Regions from separate parts of the Homo sapiens genome. Here region 1 is linked to region 2. The links are contacts of gene promoters, found by promoter capture Hi-C in human tissues and cell types (Jung and others, 2019). All regions are on one chromosome and are shown on one strand. The core of a region is centred on a gene start or on the middle of the fragment in contact, and the rest is flanking DNA. Distances in the headings are between cores, read along the strand shown.

Evidence for each region. The method cuts DNA at HindIII sites, captures the fragments that hold promoters and counts their contacts. A contact is called where the count stands out against the background at its distance.
Region 1: a fragment that was not itself captured here is called in contact with the fragment with the promoter of LRRCC1 in region 2 in 1 of the 25 tissues and cell types used here (hippocampus).

Annotation. Positions count from the first base shown.
Region 1 is chr8:85,053,927-85,057,495 of GRCh38, forward strand. No RefSeq gene overlaps it. Among named protein-coding and RNA genes, the nearest start is that of LRRCC1, 52 kb to the right of the region's middle. The HindIII fragment of the contact is 3,395 bases long and covers 343-3,569 here.
Region 2 is chr8:85,105,534-85,108,836 of GRCh38, forward strand. LRRCC1 (leucine rich repeat and coiled-coil centrosomal protein 1) reads left to right here and starts at 1,705. Exons shown (of 19, transcript NM_033402.5): 1 at 1,705-1,866. The coding sequence starts at 1,763. LOC105375933 (a long non-coding RNA gene) reads right to left here and starts at 2,329. Exons shown (of 3, transcript XR_929117.3): 1 at 2,026-2,329. RefSeq lists an enhancer at 1,817-1,876. The HindIII fragment of the contact is 9,097 bases long and covers 1-3,303 here.

The sequences.
Region 1 (3,569 bases), core at 790-3,289, 51 kb before region 2:
TATCACAAGATCAGAAAACAAAACACCGCATGTTCTCACTCATAAGTGGGAGTTGAACAATGAGAACATATGGACACAGAGAGGGGAACATCACACACCGGGGACTGTCGGGGGGTAGGAGACTAGGGGAGGGATAACATTAGGAAAAATACCTAATGTAGGTGACAGTTTAAGGGGTGCAGCAAACCACCATGGCACGTGTATACCTATGTAACAAAACTGCATGTTCTGCGCACATAACCCAGAACTTAAAAGTATAATAAAAAAAGAAAAAAAAAGAAAATTAGGATATAAAGGTGGAAAATTAAAGAAAAAAAACTTTGCATTCTTGGAACTATTTAATTCATCATTTATAATTCTTTGTTTATCTTCTGAATTTTTTTTTCTTTGCCAGTAAATTCCATGATGACAGTGCCGTTTTTGTTTCTCTTATCACTACAGCTCCAGCACTGCTTCTAGTACCTGGCATTTGGTACATATTCGATAAATATTTACTGACAATAAAGAACACTTCAAAAATTTACAAGTGCGTAATTTATTCCTTAATGGCTAGTAATAGTTTTCAACTCACTTTCTCATAACTAAAAAAATGCTTAAATTTTCTTTTGTTCTAAAAGATTTTATGCTTAATTCTTGAGCTGAATGGAATGTTCTGAATATATATGCTTTTATAGAGCCATCTAGTGCCCATTTTGTTTAGTGAAACTAAAAATGAAAACAGGAGGAAAAGTCCACAATATCCTCAACATTGAAGAATGCATAACCTCCATCTGGCAGCAGCAATTTAATACATCAACTGGCCTGTTGAATGACTTTTTTCCTGAGCTACTTCTGGCCTTCACTGTATACACACCAGATTAGTCATTCTCGATTATGGTAACTAAAAATCTGATGAGAGTTTTATAGTTAACAAGGTATGTTGAACAAAGGTGCTGCTACTTGCTCCCTCCTGAAACCCCACTACAATGACAATAAAGGAATAAAATATGCACAATGTGTAAAGATAAAGAGAACAGAGTAGGAAACAGCAGCAAATAAGAGATGTTAACAAAATTTTAGAACTTAGAAGAATGGGTAGTAACTGACATTGCCTTTAGAGAAAGCTGATAACTAAGGAAGACTGGAGGAAGCCAGTAAGAAGATGAATCCCCAAACATCTCAAAAGCTGAAGGCAAAATAGTTACAGCCCTTCTCAAGACTCTACTGTAGGATTTGTACTCCAGCAGAGCATAAACCAAGAAATAATGAAAACATGGTATTCAGGACACAGGATGAAGGAAAGAGGTAAAGGGAAATTCCCAGATTGATCATAATGGAGAATCTCAAGATTCCATCTGTGAAACAAAGAAAGTAACCAGTAAAAATTGGAGGAGAAGGATTGAGAACTCTAAGAAATATCTAAAAATGACAAAAAACAAAACAGCTGCTTGGATATATGGACAAGAGATTGCAGTTCCATCAAAATATTTGGGAATTAATTAGTAAGAGGTATATGAAAGAAAAATAGAAAATAAAAAATACAAGAAAAAATAAATTTAATAAATTGCTTAGCTGAAAATGATACTTAAAAGGTGATAATGGTGTAAAAACCAAATATCAATTTAATCAATTGAGATACAACTACTTTGGGAAGATGGGAAGAGAGAAAATAATGGAAGTGGTACATTCATGTAAAAGAGCGAAATCTCTTTAGTTAACCATTTTAATATCTAAACTGAAAATGTTTTAAAATGATAAAATTATATTTAGAAATATGGACACAAGCGCTGAAAATAACAGAAAATGGTTTCTTCTGGGAGGAAGAATCAGGAGTATGACTGCAGATAGATATTTCTTATTCTAAGTTTCAACTTTTAAAGGTATATAATTTTTAATAGGTACCATATATTTTTCTTTCTTCCCCGTTGTGCACTTCTACACTGAGCCATGGTGCAAAGCAGCATGTTTTCAGATCCTGTCTAAATGGTACTATTATTGATAGCCTTATTTGGTCTCAACTGGAACTTTGATTACACAATATTAAACATAAGAATTTTTCAATGTTTGTTAGATCAGACATGCACAAAGCCACCTCATCCCTTCGCAAAAAGTCCCCTCCCCTCCACTAGTTGCTTGAGTACAATGGCTGATTTGTCCTCTCTGGCTTGAGGGATATTTTGTAATGTCTGGCATCACAAAGCACTCCTTATGAAAGCACCAGACATCAATTGCCCAATTTTCTACCAGATTTTTCCACAGTAACTCTTTCACACTTGGAACCAAAGTGTGATGCCACATTGCTGGCATTTTATAGTAGCCTGTGGGAACCATTCTAGTCAGCATTATATGGGCCAGTACTTTTGTGAGGGCTGCCTGTCAGGTGTAATCAATCAGCAGCTTGAGCATTTCTTTTAGCCTCAATGATCTGCCTTGTTGTATGGATTCACACTTTTATCATAGTCACCTTCTTAGAAAGCATTAAAACACCTACAAATTCTTAAATGAGCTGATTATTTTTCACTTTTTTCACTAGGATTTCTACAGAGGTTAAAGAAAACAAAAAACTCATTTTTTCAGTATTCCAAAATCATGGACTACTCCAAAGGCATACTACTCTCAGTATATGTCTTAACTCTATTATTACTCACTAGTTGGCAAAGCTCTGGTGACCATGATAAGTTCTGCCCGGCAGATTTTTCCTCTAGTAAGATGTCATATTCTAGGCAACAATCAGTTGAACGCATTGCTTATGCTCTTCATGTTTCGAGACTCCACAACCTAATTGGTGGGCTGCCTATAGTCTGAAAAATACGCATTTCCTAGTAGATAAAAGGTTTGAAGAGGAGATCTTTTCCACAGTCAGACTCTCACTAGACAAAACAAGGTAAGTGTGGGTAAAGTTTTCATAAGGTTTTTAATAAGTGACTGAAGGCAAAATGTATCCAAAGAACGCCATTCTGAGGAGAAAGCTTCTGAATTTCTTAGGTCCCAGGACTGTCTTAAAGAATGGATTTAACAGGCCCTATACTGGACCTCTTCCCTATGAATTTACTATAGCAGAATCATAACAAATAAGGAGAAGGATAGACAGAGAAAATAATGTTATTACTAGCAAGGCAGTTTTCCAATAAGCAAAAAACTTTTAAATCTGATTACATAATAAAAGGATTCTTAAAAGAGATCTAATTTCTGAGGAAACAAAATAACCTTAGCATTTGGGAGCTCAACGAAAAGGAAATCATAGGTCAGACCCAAGGTGAAACATCTCATACTGTAGTGTGAGATAGCATAGCCCAAACAGGAGGCTCAAGGAACCTTGGTGAAGCACACTGTTTTTGAGTTGAGCGTCTTGAGTTGCTGCAATGAAGATTTCTTGAATGGATCTTGGTAGAACTTTCACATTGTTGAATTTCCAAAAATATCACCAAAGTTTAATTAAGCAAAGCTGCATTTATTAGAATTTACTATGGCAAAGTAAAATTTCACTTCTACATTTTTAGAAATCAAGTATACAGAAAAGAAAGTGGTATGCTTCAAAGATCTTCAATTTGCTAACCTCTACCTTTAGTGTCTCTCTCTCTCTCTTTCTC
Region 2 (3,303 bases), core at 455-2,954:
GGTTTTATTAAAAAGTCAGAAAATATGAGATGTTAGTGAGGTTGCAGAGAAAAAGTAATGCTTACACACCATCAGTGGGAATGCAAATTGCAGCCACTGTGGAAAGCAGTTTGGAGATTTCACAAAGAACTAAAAATAGAATTACCGTTCAATCCAGGAATCCCATGACCAGGTATCTAGCCAAAGAAAAATAAATTGTTTTACCAAAAAGACACCCGCATTCATATGTTTATTGCAGCACAGTAGCAAAGGCATGGAATGAGCCCTGATGCCCATCAATGATAGACTGGATAAAGAAAATGTGGCACATATACACCAACATGCAGCCATAAAAAAGAACAAAATCATGTCCTTTGCAGCAATATGGATGCAGCTGAAGGTCATTATCCTAAGTGAATTAACACAGAAACAGAAAACCAAATACCATATGTTCTCACTTCCAAGTGGCAGCTAAACACTGGATACACATGAACACAAAGATGGGAACAATAGACACTGGGGACTCCAAAAGGGGGAAGGCAAGAGTTGAATAACTACCTATCAAGCGCTATATTTACTATTTGGGTTACAGGATCATTAGAAGCCACAACCTCAGCATCGTGCAATATACTTATGTAACAAACCTGCACATGTACCCCCGAATCTAAAATAAAAAGTGAGATGAAATTTTTTTTAAAAGAAAACCTTTTTGCATTGTATCTGTTTGGGAACCTTTGGCCTCCTGTGCCTGGGTGTCTAAATCTCTTGCTAGACTTGGGAAGTTTTCATATAGTATTTTGTTGAACCATTTTTCCAACTCTATTGTTTTCTCTTTGCCTTCTGAGACTCCAAAATTTTGAATATTTGGTCACTTTATGGTGTCCTACATGTCATGTGGGTTTTGCTCATTTTTTAAAACATCTTTTTTATTTTTGTCTATATGAGTTATTTCAAAAGGAAATAGTCCACTTCAAATGGACTACTGCACCATTTGCTCCGTTTTAAAATATTACTATGCCTTAGGAAGCAATCTAGCCAGGAGGGTTATTTGACCTCACACAGGTATTGCTTTCCCACCTGTAATGCCATTCATCCAGAACTCCCCCTAACCCAGCAAGACTCTATTCAGTCATCAATCACTTCTTTTAGAAAACGTACCCACTACCCATATCACTCTAGAGTTGGTTTCGATGCCCTTGTGTTATTCTTAGCATTCGTCATACTGTATGGCAATTCTGTTTCCTCTATGGGGCTGCGAATGTTTCCAGGAACAAGAATAGGCTTCATCTTTTTCTTCCTCATACAGGGAAGTGACTGACATACAGTAAGGCATCCCACAAATTGTTCAATGAATCAACAGGAGGTGCAATGGCCAGAGGAACAATTTATACGTATGTAAGGCTATGTAAAGGCACGTAAAGCCAAACCGCTGTGAAAACCGCCTTCAGAAGTCAGTCGGCTACTAGGCAAATATACAGAAGCACACAGGACAAATCCATTCATTCTCCAGCTCCTACACGCCCGGGAAGCAGTTTTACTTTACAGCAAGTTCAAGAGTCGCACCGCAGATGCTGTAAAAACGAAAGAAGCCCACAGTTGGGACGAGGATTCCAGTTTTGCGTCACCGTCAAGGCGGGAAAGTTCCCGGCTGTCGGTTGGAGGGTGGGTCCTCGCCCCGCCCCGCCCCCTCGGGCCGCCCTTCCGCGCTTCCGGGAGGCTTGTCCCAAGCTCACGGACCCCTCGCTGGGTGCCGGTTAAGACCCCGCTCCCCGTCGCCAGTGCTATGGAGGCGGCGGCGGCGGTGGTGGCGGCAGAGGCGGAAGTGGAAAACGAAGACGGCGACAGCAGCTGCGGGGATGTATGCTTCATGGACAAAGGCTTGCAGAGGTAAAGGGCGCTCCGCAGCCAGGAGCGACCCGCGCACTCCCCAGAGCCGGGGCCACGAGTGGCTGGCGGCGACACCAGAGTGGAGGCGCGGCACTGCTTTACCAAGACCATAAGTGAACGCAGTCTGGCTTTCGGCCTCCCCGCTCCTCCAAAACTTACCTGCCGAAGTGCCAGGTTGAATGAGCCGTGGATGCCTTCCCGCCCGTGTCTCCTGCCCAGCGTTTCACACGACTCTGCTTAGCCTAGAAACTGCCCCAGGACCTTGTCCTCCACCAGCTTCTGACCACTCTTTCCTTCTGCTGGTTTTCCTTACTTACTGGTGGTTATTCCTTTGCTTGCCGTTTAATTGCTGGTTTTCTCGTGTTCTCTCGTCTTTCCTGTTCTTACCTCTGAAAAAAACCTGCAGGATAGTATCTCTGGCAGCTATGAGCGGGCAGTCGCTGCTGCCTGTTAGTTTTGCCTCAGTTCTCCTTGTCTGCATTCGAAATCATTTGTCCGTTACAGAACATTGCAATACATATATTCATATACTTTTTGAAAGTACTAAACTTACTATATTTAGTTCATCGTTTCCCTCTCTCTTGAAGCCCTGACTTGTGCAAAGCATATGAGGCACTTGGTTCTGTAATACTGTAAAGCAGGTCTCCACCTGCATTTCAGGCTCTTTAGTCTCGACCCGTAACATTTCTCCACTTACACTTTATTTACCTGTACTGAGCTACAGGCAATTCCATAGCAGACTTCTCTGTGCCTTTGCACATGCTGTTCCTTTGTAGCGTGTCCTCTACGCGAACTCTGCTACTGATAATTAAGCATCTTGTTCTGGATTCTGATTTAAACTTTGCCAGATGATCCCAAGAAGATGCTGTTCAAGGGACATTTTACATTTCTATTTAATACTAGCTGCCATTTACTGAATGCTATCTGTTGTGTGCATGTTATATACATTATCAGTAATCCTCACAGCAATTCTACAAGGTAGTAATTTTTCTCATTTACAAGTGATGAATGAGACTCAGAATCTATTGACAATTTGTTCATCTTTATACACTTCATGAAGAATTAAGTTCGGATTCAAACCCATTTTCCGTCTAATTTCACTATGCTTTTTCTATCTCACATTATCTGCACATTATTAATGTCGAGAAACTGAAATGTGTCAGAAAGTAAATGACTGTCATTAAGAGCATGTGTTAACAGCATAAGGTCTGGCACTAAATAAGAACTCAAGTAAATGACACAGCAGGATAAGTGGGAAATGCCCCAGATAGTCACATTTAAAGGTTGCTAGTTTGAAATTTGCAAATGCTTCCCTGCTGTCAGAGTTAGGTTTCCTACAGCTGTAAGATAGCTGCTACTCAACCTACAGCAGATGCCCGTGACATTGTGTGTTCCTGGGTGTATCTCCCATCTAGCAACTCCAAACTGTGTATGCTG